3 separate regions of the Homo sapiens genome follow, and regions 2 and 3 are each linked to region 1. Evidence: promoter capture Hi-C in 16 types of primary human blood cells and fetal thymus (Javierre and others, 2016). All regions are on one chromosome and are shown on one strand. The core of a region is centred on a gene start or on the middle of the fragment in contact, and the rest is flanking DNA. Distances in the headings are between cores, read along the strand shown. Region 1 holds the start of DUSP19 (dual specificity phosphatase 19). Region 2 overlaps LOC101929976 (a long non-coding RNA gene). Region 3 overlaps DNAJC10 (DnaJ heat shock protein family (Hsp40) member C10).

Evidence for each region. Contacts are between HindIII fragments. The CHiCAGO score rates a contact against its expected background, and 5 or more counts as called.
Region 2: a fragment that was not itself captured here is called in contact with the fragment with the promoter of DUSP19 in region 1 in 7 of 17 cell types (activated CD4 T cells, naive CD8 T cells, total CD8 T cells and 4 more); the score reaches 10.0 in activated CD4 T cells.
Region 3: a contact is called between a fragment that was not itself captured here and the fragment with the promoter of DUSP19 in region 1, in 4 of 17 cell types (non-activated CD4 T cells, total CD4 T cells, total CD8 T cells and 1 more). The highest score is 9.4, in non-activated CD4 T cells.

The regions. Positions count from the first base shown.
Region 1 is chr2:183,076,292-183,080,985 of GRCh38, forward strand. It overlaps DUSP19 (dual specificity phosphatase 19), which reads left to right and starts at 2,456. Exons shown (of 4, transcript NM_080876.4): 1 at 2,456-2,868. The coding sequence starts at 2,643. The HindIII fragment of the contact is 1,671 bases long and covers 1,440-3,110 here.
Region 2 is chr2:182,665,834-182,670,527 of GRCh38, forward strand. LOC101929976 (a long non-coding RNA gene) reads right to left here. Exons shown (of 7, transcript XR_427200.3): 7 at 717-747. It also overlaps a transcript of PDE1A not described here. Among named protein-coding and RNA genes, the nearest start is that of DNAJC10, 48 kb to the right of the region's middle. The HindIII fragment of the contact is 3,687 bases long and covers 821-4,507 here.
Region 3 is chr2:182,720,383-182,725,076 of GRCh38, forward strand. It overlaps DNAJC10 (DnaJ heat shock protein family (Hsp40) member C10), which reads left to right. Exons shown (of 24, transcript NM_018981.4): 5 at 1,643-1,693. Among named protein-coding and RNA genes, the nearest start is that of DNAJC10, 6.5 kb to the left of the region's middle. The HindIII fragment of the contact is 2,201 bases long and covers 1,130-3,330 here.

The DNA of each region.
Region 1 (4,694 bases), core at 1,206-3,705:
ATTTAGACACTTGGCTATTAAGCTATTCCCCCATATATCTACAGGGCTGGCTTCTGCACTTTATTCAAGTCTCTGTTCAATTTTCACTGTATCAGAAGTGCTTTCTCTTACCACCCTAAAACAAATAACACGCTGCCCTCTCACTCTGTTCCCTTATTTTGCTTGATTTTTCTTTTTTTAGCATTTAAATTATGACCGAACATGGTTATATGTATATTTGTTTCTTGCTCTCTCCACTTGGATATAAGATCCATGAAAGAAGGGACTTTGTTTTTATTCACTGCTGTATTTCCAATGACTATAACAGTGCCAGGCACATAGCTGATGCTCAGTAAATATTCGTTAACTGTAATTATTTTGGAAGCAGGGCCGTATTCTACAGTAAATAAAAGATAAGGCACTGGACTGAAACAAACATAGGTTTTATTTGTGATTCTAATCACAAATAGGGGTGAGGTCAAATATGATAATGTGTGTAAAGCATTGTTAAGCAGCTAAGGGATAATACTAAGAATCTAAAATTGTTTATAAGCGCAGTGCCTAGCATGCAGTGAATGCTTAATAGTACTTATTTTTTTGATCATTATTATGATAAATATATGGATTGATTTATGGTTAGAGTTGTTTTTTGATGAGCCTGTGATTGTTGTTTAAATGATGCAAATAATCTCTTCAGTTTTTCATTTTAGGACATCCTGTAGATAGCCTGAGCTTATATATATATATATTTTTCTCTCTCTTTCTTTTTCTTTTCTTTTCTTTTTTTTTTTTTTTTTTTTTTTTGAGACAAGGTCTTACTCTGTTGCCCAGGCTGGAGTACAGTGGCATGATCATGGCTCACTGCAGCCTCAACCTCCTTAGCTCAGGTGATCCTCCCACCTCAGCCTCCCAGGTAGCTGAGACTACAGGCACGTGCCACCAAACCTGGCTAATTTTTTGTATTTTTTAGTGGAGTTGGGGTTTCATCATGTTGCCCAGGCTGGTCTCGAACTCCTGGGCTCAAGCAATCCACCCATTTTGGCCTCCCAAAGTGCTGGAATTACAGGCATGCGCCACTGTACTGGGCCTATTCCTTTTTCAAGAGGGAGAAGTTTGGTTTATATCTCAGTTTGCTCAGGCTGCTCTAACAAAATGCCATAAACTTTGTTGCTTAAACAACCGAAATATATTTTCTTACAGTTCTGGAGGCTGAGAAGTCCAAGATCAAGGTGCTGGCCTATTCAGTTCCTGCTGAAAGCTCTCTTCCTGGCTTGCAGACAGCCAGCTTCTCCTTATGTCCTCATACTGTCTTTCCTTGGTCCATATAGGGGAGCAGGCAGATTTCTTTCAGTTCTCCTGAAGCCACTAAACCCATCATGAGGACCCTACCCTAGGGTCTTAGTCTAATCCTAAATTACATCCCAAAAGTCCCATTTAAATACCATCACCTTGAGGTTTAAAGCTTTAACATATGCATTTTGAAGGGACAGAAATAGTCAATCCATAACAGTTGAATTTTTTTATGTCAGAAAGTTTCAACAACAACACAAATTTTAATATGTGGTATTGGAAGAAAAGTTTTCATAAGTGCAACTTCTTCATTTTATATATGTGTTTATACATTGTGTTGAAATTCATTTAAAATTACATTTACTTTAATAGGGGTTTGAAAAATTTCTCTTTAAAGGAATCTTGTGATTTCTTTTGCAAAACTTTTTTTTGGTAATCAGAATCATCGTTCTATAATTTATTTATCTGTTTTACAAATTTGGATGCTTACACAATTGATTTTCTTAATTCTTCGTATGGATGGACTTGCTGCAATTCTTATTTAGGATGTATATTTACTGTATGAAATGAAAATGTAGGCTGAAAGTCAGAAAATAAATAAATTTTAAGCTCTTGTCAATCTACATATATGAGCATAAATTTTAAAAAATATATCTTTTTTCCCAGTTTATTTAAATTGTTGCCTCACAAATACGCACAACAACTTTATCTAGTAAACGTTCCTCTTGCATTAACAGCAAAAGCAGAAGGTGTGAAGGATACAGGAAGCGAGAAATAACTTTTAACGTCTGCTCTAGCCCTCCTGGACTAGCCTAAAAGCAGACAGGCAGGAAAGGCTTTGGGACATAGGGTGATTTGCAAGGTGACTCCGCCGGTCTCTTTCAAGCGGGAGCGATACACAGGTCAGCCCGGATCGTCCATGGTCACTGCCGTAAGTGACACTAACAGAATATATCAGAAAATCACTGCCTTTAAAGAACCAGGACATATCATTCCTCTCTCCAACGAAGTCTTATATTTTACCATTCTGCGTGTATTAGAAAGCTAAATTTAAACAGCAACAATAAGAAATCTTCCCCAGTGGATCCCTCGAGCCTTTCGGGAAAATGCAGGTTTCTGGCTGACAGGAAGAAGAAACAGCATCCAATCGGCACTTGTGTCTCAATGACCAATCAAATTTCGCCTTACATTGCATCGCTGGGATAAACGGAGCTGGACGACTCAGTCTCTTGGTCTGTGGCTGCTGCGGTTACCTGGATGGGCGAGCACCTCTGAGGCTGGCTTTGTTACCTGGGCAATAAGGGACTAGCAGTTCAGCCGTTTTCTATGCCTGCTGGATTTGTTTGTATTTGTTCCCAGCCACTGCTCATGTAATGTACTCCCTTAACCAGGAAATTAAAGCATTCTCCCGGAATAATCTCAGGAAGCAATGCACCAGGGTGACAACGCTAACTGGAAAGAAAATTATAGAAACATGGAAAGATGCCAGAATTCATGTTGTGGAAGAAGTAGAGCCGAGCAGTGGGGGTGGTTGTGGTTATGTGCAGGACCTTAGCTCGGACCTGCAAGTTGGCGTTATTAAGCCATGGTTGCTCCTAGGTGAGTATATCGACTTGCCACTAGATCATTGAGTCCTTTTAGCCAGATTACGTTCTCATTTTCCCCCTTTATGCGTAATAGTCTGTATTATCAGCTATCCTGCCGAAAAGCTGAACTGTTTCCTTTTTTGGATATGGAACTTCCATTAGCCAGCTAGAGCCGTTTCTGCCTCACAGTGTACCCATAAGAAGCATAGATGCTATTCTCGTAGCACTTGGCACTGCATATTTGAATTTTAGAAAAGCTTTCTTCCCGTTTCTCTAACTTCTCTGGAGAATAACACATTGATGTTGTGTTTTCTTGGCTTATAAAAAATACAGCTTGAAAAAAAAGGAATGAAAAAAGAATGTTTGTATCAGGCAGAACTACAAGTGACAATGGTTAAAGTTATAGAAAAGTTAATACTCGAAATAGTCCTGTGCTTGCTGGCCTGCGCAGCTCTTACAGACCGTGCGGAATACATGCCTCCTGTGGCCACGTCTGTTCATGGTGTCTGTTTTTGGAGTGTTTAAGAGAAGGAGATCTTAAGATCTTATGATTTATTTCGTATTATGGAAATACTGAGCCCCTATACAAGCATAGTTCACAAATAGCAAATGAAGCAAGGTTATAAAAGTGCAAACTTGTTAATTTGGCAAGAATATGGTATGGTGTTCTTAAAAAAATAGTCAAGAATGTTTTCAAGTACGTCTGAATTATTTCTATTTATGAATAGAGAAATTAAGACTTGGAAAGACTAAATGACTTATCACTATGCAGCTAAGGCATTCTTGAATAGAGAGAAGACTGAGAAATAGCCCAGGTGCTGTTCACCTAGTGTCTTACTCCTTTGAGGAATCCTGTGAAGTAGGGATTATCAGCTTTGTTTTACAAATAGAAACCAGGATTTAAAATTGGTGAAGTAATTTACACAAGGTAACACACCTGGTAAATAACAGACGTATGCATCAAGCCCAAGTCTGATGGACTCCTGCTGTCCATTGTTATACTAGGCTGCCTCACATAGACCAAGTTTTCAATCCTGCTCCGCCTCTAATTTACTAGATTAGCTGGTGCAAGCCATTTATCCTTTCTGGTCCTCCAAAAAGCCATTTGTAAAGATGAAGTAACAGTATCTGCTTATGTCATAGGATCCTCCTGAGGTTGTTGTAAAAGGTTTTTGATGCAAATCAATTGCAGTGTACATATAAGTTATTAAATATTATATGAATTGTTACATAGGCTGTCTTTAAATTCACCAAATAAATGTCTCTAACTAGTTTCTACAGTCCCGTGAAAAACTGTACCATATTCTTGTCACATTTACAGTGAAAAAGTGAGTTATTTAGGTAATCTGAAAAGTTCACCTAGGCCCTGCTCACCATATCTAGGAAAGAAAATACGTCCTGGCACATTTTTCAGTTATTTTGGCTTCCACTGTAGTAATCATGGCTTGGAATAATTATGGTAGAATTTTCATATATCATTCACCAATTTAGGGTCTTCATGAACTTTGCTTATTACTATTATTTGTGGACTTACCCAAAGTGAACTGATCAAGGTAGTGTTCTGAGATTGGGGTTGGAAACCTCCCCAGGATAGTGGGAGAGTCCTGGGAGGAACTTCTGAAACTAGCCCTAATAAGGTCTTCTCTGGAATGGGATACTTTCATCAGGAGCAACCTCCTCCCTTCTGAAAGCTCACCTTTTTCTGCCTAATTACAAGTGCCTCATTCCTAAAGGATCCATGGGTGGTTCCACCCGCAGTTCTTCTACATGAATGTTGAAAGAGTTGTTTCTGACCAGACTTAGTTTACGTCTGGGAGACTGGGGTTGTTTGCAGGTTGG
Region 2 (4,694 bases), core at 1,414-3,913, 410 kb before region 1:
AGACTGGATAAAGAAAGTGTGGTACATATACACCATAGAATACTATGCAGCCATAAAAAGGAATGAAATCATGTCTTTTGCAGGAACATGGATAGAGCTGGAAGTCATCATTCTCAGCAAACCAACACAGGAACAGAAAAGGAAACACCCCATGTTCTCACTTATAAATAGGAGCTGAACAATAAGAACGCATGGACACAGGGAGGTGAACAACATACACTGAGGCCTGTCAGCAGGGAGGGAGAGCATCAGGATAAATAGCTAATGCATGCAAGGCTTAATTCCTAGGTGATGGGTTGATAGGTGCAGCAAACCACCATGTCACATGCTTACCTAAGTAACAAACCTGCACATCCTGCACATGTAACCCAGAACTTAAAATTAAAATTAAATTTTAAAAAATCACCCCTCAAAAAATGTACATGCTTAAATTAATAAACACACATAAATTTGGCTTAACGAATTAAAGATTACTACATGTTTTAAAAAATCATAGACAAGGGGCTGGGTGTGGTGGCTCACGTCTGTAATCCCAGCACTTTGGGAGGCCAAGGTGGGTGGATTACCTGAGATCAGGAGTTCGAGACCAGCCTGACCAACATGGTGAAACCCCATCAATACAAAATTAGCCGGGTGTGGTGGCGCATGCCTGTAATCCCAGCTACTCAGGAGGCTGATGCAGGAGAATCGCTTGAACCCGGGAGGCAGAGGTTGCAGTGAGCTGAGATCATGCCATTGCACTCCAGCCTAGGAAACAACAGTAAAACTCTGTCTCAAAAAAAAAAAAAAATTATAGACAATAACATACTCAAAAGGGTAAAGCTTGACAAGGTAGCAAGAAACAGAGATTTTGCCAATTGCCAAGTATGTCTATTGCAACTCTACATTCAGGAACCAGGGAAGAAATTACCAGCTAACTTCTACCTCTATCTAAGCCTTTGTCTATCACCTGGCCACCATAAGCTCCCATTTGACTGGTACAGTATAGCAGGTTTGGAGTGCCCAGGAATAGCATCAGTTCATATTAAGTGTCTAGGAATATCTGAATAGTCTGGGTATTTCCTTTTTCCCAGTACACAGTCACGGTCTAGGTACTTCCTTTTTCCCAGTGCACAGTCCTGCTAGTAAGTCACCCTTTGGGAAAGAATCAGGGGAAATTTTACATTCTATATTTGGTTCTGCTGTAGCATCCTTCTTCAAAAGAACCTGGCCTCCCCTTGAATCAGGGGGTTCTAACCTGTGAACTGGTTTAGCTCTAAAAAGTAGGTAGAAATCCATCACTCTCCACTAGGTGGCTCAAGTCAGGTTTTTAGCCACCAGACCTGCAGTTTCTGTTTTATAAATTAAGCAGCTTTTTAGTAGGCTGCTCATCATTTTCATTTCTGGTAACCACATGGTCAATTAGTCACTACCAAAAATTCCTGCAGGTCTAAATAGTCTGATTACCTTTACAGTAATCAGAATCTGCCAGCCTTTATAACAAATATGGCTGCTTTATCTTTGGCAGTTAAGTATTGTCCATTGGCCTCTGCTCTTTCAGGGTCCCATCATCCCTATTGGAATCAGGGAACCCATCACAATGGTGGTATTTCCCACCATCATATGTGGCTTACATATGAGAGCCACTACAGTGCTCTTCAGAGTGTGGGTGTTCCCCTCACTAATGTGTTTCTCACTGCTTTCAAGGGAGTATCCTCTGAGTCTCCTCAGACAATACAGTTGAGGGTAGAGGGACACAGCACCCATATAACAAATCATTCCTGTTCGAAGTCTTTGGAGTCCTAAACTTTTAGATTCCTTTCTGCACATGTGAAGTCAACAAACATTTTCTGTAAAGGACCAGATTGTAAATATTTTAGGCTTTGTGAGTCAACAGTCCAAACAGAAGAGATTCTGTCACAGAGGGATTAGAATTGCTATATCTGGAAAAGACAGAACAATGTCAATGTTCAACTTCCAAAACTGCAACCCAAAATGAGAGATTTTATAAGTTCCAAAATCTCTTTCTTTCAAATGAAAAGTAAACCCTTGGGATCTGAAAATAGGGCTTTATTAGAAGCCATAGTGTAAAGAATACTTGAGATATAATATCAAGGAAGTCCCACCAGAGATATTAGAGTCTGCTAAGGGAAAGGATTGAAGGAGGGAAGTGGGATGGTGCTGATGAAGATGCAACACCCTTCCCAACCCATGGACTTCAGTCAAAGGGAAAAGAGATTCCTAAATGGGTGGAGAAGGAATCCAAAATTATCTGGGAGGCTGCTCTGTCCTTCTCAGTATAGCATGGCTGAGAGGTATTAGTCCATGATCAGAGAGCAGTGAGTATTTAAGAGTAGCCTGAGGTAGCACCAATTCTCCACAGCTGACTTATGATTCCCAAGGGCTCAGAGACGTAGGATTTGTAGGGGTTCTGAGAAGGATGCTGGACAACTAGAGATCTGCAGTCAAGACAGGAGATATGGGGCAGGCACATCACAACAGTGACAAATGGTAGGAACCATGGACTTAGGCAGAGGGCACTTACAGATGAGTGTTATAAGCATACCTCTGCAAGATTAGACCAGACCAATCAACTTCACTTCAGTGGAGACTAGCATGAGACCGAAAAAAAGGCAAAAAAAACCAATAGAGGCCACCAAGAGTAACTGTAAGCCACACACACATGCATACCCCTAGACAGTCTCTAGAAATGGAGGAAATGGAAGAGAGATGTCAGGTTTGAGCCCAAACTGAGGTTCAAGGGGGAGTTGGTGGATGACTGGTAGGTAGTTGAAAGAACACTCAGGGGGCTGCAGTCAGGTGAAATATGGCTTTATTCTCTCTCTGGGCACAAGCCTTTGTCTCGGCTGCCTGCTCCTGCCACAGCCCTTCTCAGCAGCCAGCTCTTCGGCTCCTGCTGCCCCAACGCATACAGCTGCACTCCCTGGAGCACTCACCATTTCCTGGCTCCCCACTGTCTGCCTGCAAGGTGGTTAGCTCTGGCTCTCTCTTACAGAGTCAGCAGCTTTACTCTCTCTCTCTCTCCTGCCTCGTGCGAGCCGGTGGCAGCAGGGCAGTTACACTCCTTACAGACAACAGTGGCTCAGAGCCAAGTATGAGCTTAACAAACAGGTTACATAATGCATGGGACTGTGCACCTGTGCTCCAATCCCACTCATCATGCTGTACTGGATGTTTATCTTGGCCTATTCTTGACCACAGCATATCCATTTTCCTTTCAAGAGGCCTTTGATAGAGGAGAGAAACAGCCTTTCAGGAAGGTTGAACTTTGAATTAACTGTTTCCCCCAAAGAAGCTATTCTAGACTGAAAAGACCAAATAACCTTTAATAAGGCAAGATTAAGTGTACTGACCCTTCACTCACCCCAGACACACTATTTACAGGACTCCAAAGATCATTCCTCAAAACAAAGGAATACTACTTGTTTTGGCCCATTTTGTTTGTTAGGTGTGACTTTTAATACAATAGCCCAGTAGGGTCAGGTGTTGCTTAATTAAAGTGATGGGAATTATTGTTTTGACAAAGTCAAAGACTGTTCCCAGATGTGGGTTTTTAACCCATCTTTTAACAAATATTCCCACCAGTCAAGGAAAATTTGTTGAATTTTGCTATAGTTTCCATGTATTAAAAGTTGGAAGTTTGTTTTGTTTTCTATTTTCAGTCTCTTCTCTGACTTTACCTTTTGTTAAGATCTCACCCTTCTTTAAAACAGCAACCTTCGCTATTTTTCCCTATTAAGCATGTTATTTCTTTCCCATCTTCCTGATTAAAGATTTTTAATGAACTCCCCATCACTCATATTTTCGTCATTAATTCTGTTTATAATCCCTTGTATTTTACATTCTATTCGCACAGCTCTTGACTGCCTTATCATAGGTGGTTCCCACACTTCTTAACTCTCTCCTTTGAATCCACCTTTTACGCCATGTGTATGGTAAACACCCTGATAGCAATGACATAAGCATACCCTGAAAATGCTCCCATATGGCAGACGCACCTGCGTGTGCGTTCTGAGCTAAGGAATCCGGGAGTGGCCAACCCAGAGATTCATTCCTTGTCTATTAGGAACATCTGAGCCCTCGGAGCATCCCATGGGAACATGGGCCACACACGGGCCCATTTGGAGCACATGAAGGTTGCCAGGTGCAGGTCATTAAGGGATGATGGTGTTAAGTAAAAATGCTATATAAACCACATGCTGTTTGCAAGCAGTTTTGGTTTTCCTGGCCAGCTCACTGCCACAGGGCCATGCAGATATCTTGTCCAGCCCACCACCACTGGATTCTCTCTTCCCTGTATATAAGTGCCCAGTACAACCCCATGTCTCGTTTGCTGGCTCTGGGTCTCTTTTTGGCTTCTTGAATCAAAAGGTACTCAGGGGGTTTACCCTACACCTGTTTAGAGAAAAAATTCCAAGGTCTTCAGTTGTTCCCACCTAAACCATTTAACTGTTTTACAAGGACTAGTATTTCTCAATCCTTAATTGCACACTAAAGACTCCTAGGAAGCTTGAAAAATTAATATAGAGTCCTGAGCTCTACAACAGGGCAAGTAAATCAGAATATCTCAGAGTGAGACCCAGCTATCAATAGCTTTTAAAAGCTCTCCAAGCTATTCTCATGTGCAGTCAAGGTTGAGAATCATTTATCTAGAACTAGATCAAGTCAAAGTTGGGCTAGATTGTCCTAGGCCT
Region 3 (4,694 bases), core at 980-3,479, 360 kb before region 1:
CTTTTAAAATAAGGATTGCTATTTAATAAAAAATATGCATTCATGGACTGCATAATGACATTTCACTTAACAATGGATTGTATGTAGGACATTGGTCCCATGAAATTATAATACCATATTTTTACTGTACCTTTTCTATATTTAAATACAAAGATACTTAGCATTGTGTTACAGTTGCCTATGGTATTCAGCAGTAACATGCTGTACAGATTTGTAGACTAGGTGTGTAGTAAGCTATACTATCTAGGTTTGTGTAAGTACACTCTGTGATGTTTTTGCAACAACAAAATTCCCTAACAACACATTTCTCAGAATGTGTCCCATTAGTAAGTGATGTATGACTATATGTTTGCATTAGGGGTAGCTAAATATTTCTTTCAGTATTTTTTAGTATTGAATAATATTAATTTCTTTCAATATATTTTAGAGCATCATATTGTCCAAGAAAGGCGAAACTTCAAGTTTAGTAATGATCTCTTCAATAGAAATGCCGTCCTTCTCATATGGAACCCTTACTGATTTTTAAGGTGTTTTGGCCTTCGGTTGACATTAAGGTCAATACCTTGAAACATTATCAATAAAGGTTCCATATGAGAAGGACGAAAGGTGTTTTTTTTCTTAAACATGGAGGAAAAAATAAGGTGGAAGGAGGAAACAAAGTAAAGGAACTAAGGAAGAGAGATTGTAAACACACAGGTATCAAGGGAGGAAGGTGTGTTCAGAGACCCAGTGTTTCTCCTAGTCATTAATTAACCTCAAATGCAGGCTAAGAACTGAATATGCTTCTGTATTAGACTAAATGAAGTATTTTAAATTTATATCTGGAGGATTTGCTTTTAGTAAATATGATTTTTTTTCAAAATAGTATTTTCAAGTATATTCTCTACACCTTGATAGTCTATATCAAGAGTTAGCAGACTGCATTTCATAGGCCAAATCTGGCTTGCCATTTGCTTTTATAAATAAGTTTTATTGGAATGGAATTACTTTAATTTGTTTACATAATATATGTGACTTCTTTCACACTTCAAGAGCAGAGTTGAGAAGTTGTGATAGAAGCCATACATCCCACAAAGCCTAAAAAATGTATATTTACTAAATATTTGTGTCTGCCTCTGCAAATACTCTAAGCTTTTTAGCAGAAGATATTCTAACATGATACCATGTGTTAAAAACCATATAATCTGAAAATCAAATGAGGTCTGTAGTCTAGTTAACAGTGTACCACTCTCAATTTCCTGGTTTTCGATATTGTGCTATATAGCTACATAACATGTCACCATTAGAGGAAGGTGAGTAAAAAGTATACAAGAGTCTATATTTTTGCACCTTCCTGAATCTGTAATTATTTTTAAAACCATAATATAAATTTTATATGGAGGTAAAATTATGTGAATATTACGAACTACCGCATACACATCTATGAGAGTCCATATCAGAATTCTAATATCTTTAGATCACCCTAAATGTACTGATAGTATTATTTACTTTTTTTTCACTTAGGATGTTGCATATTCTCTAAGTTTGAGATATAATATAGTAGTTTGATTTTTTTGATGATTAAAACGAGTAATCTATTTTTATGTTGCAATTTATATGGTGAAGTTTTGATTTTATAATTTTTATATACTTTTAAAATTAGGTATTTATGATGATGATCCTGAAATCATAACATTGGAAAGAAGAGAATTTGGTAAGTTTGTGGGCTTAAGGTTTTATAAAACTAATACAAGTTCGATCTCATCTAAAACTCTAGGGGATATATATGTTTGAAATTTAGAAATCTTTTGGAGTTTCGAACAGTAATAATGTAATATACTGTATCTTAAATATTTCTAGCAGAATGTGGGGAAGTGTACCATAATAAAAACATTAATATTTATGTAGCAAAATGTGTAAGTATATATACTAAATAAAAGAAATTTAAAAATCAGTTCAGATCAGGTTTGGATGCCAAGTGAGCTTGCTGCAAACTTACAGCAAAACTTCTCAGAGCTTTTTGATTTTAGAGTTTTGGATAAAGGTATAGTTATTTTGGAAGTAGATTTAATTTGATTGGCAACTTTGTGTGAAAATGGCCATAAAAATACAGTTCTGCATTTTCCATTGCATTTTAGAAAATTGTATACCAGAATAGATTCTTATACTTTCATCCTTTGTACAGTAATAATAGGTTTATTTTTTCTATTTCAGAGCAATAAATTAAACTTCAAATCAAATTTCAATTTTATATTGCTCTATCACAATTGTATTTAATTTAGAAAACTAAAATACAGCCAGGCGCGGTGGCTCACACCTGTATAATCCCAGCACTTTGGGAGGCCAAGGCAGGCAGATCGCTTGAGATCAGGAGTTAGAAACCAGCCTGGCCAACATGGGGAAAACCCTCTCTACTAAAAATACAAAAATTAGGTGTGCCTGGTGGCACGCACCTGTAATCCCAGCTACTTGGGAGGCTGACGCACAAGAATCGCGTGAATCTGGGAGGCTGATATTGCAGTGAGCCATGATGGCACCACAAAAAAAAAGAAAACTAAAATAGCGTACCAGTCGCAAAAAATACATATAAATCTATATGTTTTTCATATATTATCGTTAAAAATTTATTACAGCTACTTGATTTTATACAGTTTGTTCCTTCTAAGCAAGGGTGGCTTTTTTTTTTTTTTTTTTTTGAGACGGAGTCTTGCTTTGTCACCCAGACCAGTGTGCAGTGGCACGATCTTGGCTCACTGCAACCTCTGCCCCCTGGGTTCAAGCGATTCTCCTGCCTCAGCCTTCTGAATAGCTGGGATTACAGGTGCCCGCTACCACACCCAGTTAATTTTTGTATTTGTATTTTTAGTAGAGACAGGATTTCACCATGTTGGCCAGGCTGATCTCGAACTCCTGACCTCAGGCGATCCACCCACGTTGGCCTCCCAAAGTGCCAGGATTACAGGCATGAGCCACCACATCTGGCCAAGGGTGGCATTTTAATCTTATTTTCTACATCATGCTGGTGAGCTTCACATACAAAATAGCTGTTCAATGTGTTACTTTGTTAAAAGCCTTCTAGGTGAACACTTGAACATGTTCTAAGTGAATAGAAAATACATCTTTCCTGTGTTCTGCAAATAAGACAATTTGATTCATTTGGATTGTTAATAGAATTAATGCTCATGTCACAAGCTGGTAGAATCATAACTCTCGTGTGAGTTATATAAACCTATAGCTGTTCCTGTGTGGTTTTTATTGTCTCTCATCTCCTAATATATCAGTAAGTGTTTTGTGTACCAATGGTTCAGAAAACATCGGAATTACAGATAGAGGAACTGAACAAAACTTGCAAGCTTACTAATCCATGAGTCTACCTAGAATGAGACTTCACTGATAGTTATATTGTATATGGGTTCACACTTTTTCAGATGTGTCACTATGCAGAAAAGCTTAAGAACTGTTAATAGTTCATATAGAACCCCAAATGGTAGTTCAAGATAAATTGCAGCCACAAAACTTCAGAGATAATTCATAAATAATTAACCTTGCTTGATGAGAGGAATGAGCAGGAGCATTGTTGTGATAGAGAAGGACCCTCTAGTGAAGCTTTCCCAGGCATTTTTCTGCTAAGCAGATGTTATCATTTCTGGCTCTCTAGAAAGTCAACAAGCAAATGCCTTCTAAGCTCTTCTATTATATGCAGCATAGGTTAAGTAGGTTTAATCAATTCTGACAGCTACTGTAAACTCTGAAAGAATAAAATAAGAGACCTACATAATACAGTAAGGATTGCGGGGATTAAATTTAATATAAGCCCTAAATAAGACATTACCTTGGAAAATCACTTTATTTGAAAAGATTGACTTTTTTTTAACAATTCAAAACATTAATACATACTTGCTAAAATTATAGATTTGAACATGTGATATCTAGCCAATAGTGCAGTTTATATTTTATCTGTAAAATGACCTGATGCAAATTACAAATTTTACTCACTTAAAAAATTTAACATTGTAAAAATGTGCTTTCACATTCAAGATAAAAAGGCGAGGGTAATCTGCTTTTGGTTAAAGGATTTCCATATGATTCCATGTTAAAATTAGTTAATATTTTAAAATAAAAATTTCAGAAATTACAGTAAGACATTAAAACATGCATGGTATTCTAAATACGTGCAACTAATTCAGGCTAATTAGAAACAGGTACAGGACTCAGTGTTCACCTACATTTCAAGTATAAGATAGACCTGTGGGGAAAAAGTTAATCTGTACCTTACAGGCAAAGTAATTACATTTTACTTTGCTAATAGAAGCTGTTAACTGGAGTTGTATGTATATTAACAGACAGTAGCTGTAGTTGTATAGTTTAGAAGTGGAAAGTTGCATTTTGAAATGTAATAATTCTATTCTGGGTCACTGTTAGGCACAACATCCCATTGAGCTGTGATGATACAGTATTTAAAATATTTTAACTTTATTCTTATTACTCAGCAATCAGTGGGAACTTGGCAAATATGAGAAGTGCTCGATGAAGACAAAGTACAGGTGTACCTCATTTTATTACACTTTGATTTATTGCACTTCATAGATAATGCACTTTTTTTTCCTTAACAAATTGAAGGTTTTTAGCAACCCTACATCAAGCGAGTCTATCAGCTGAACGTGTTTCCAATAGCATGTGCTCATTTCATGTCTCTTTCTCACATTTTGGTATCC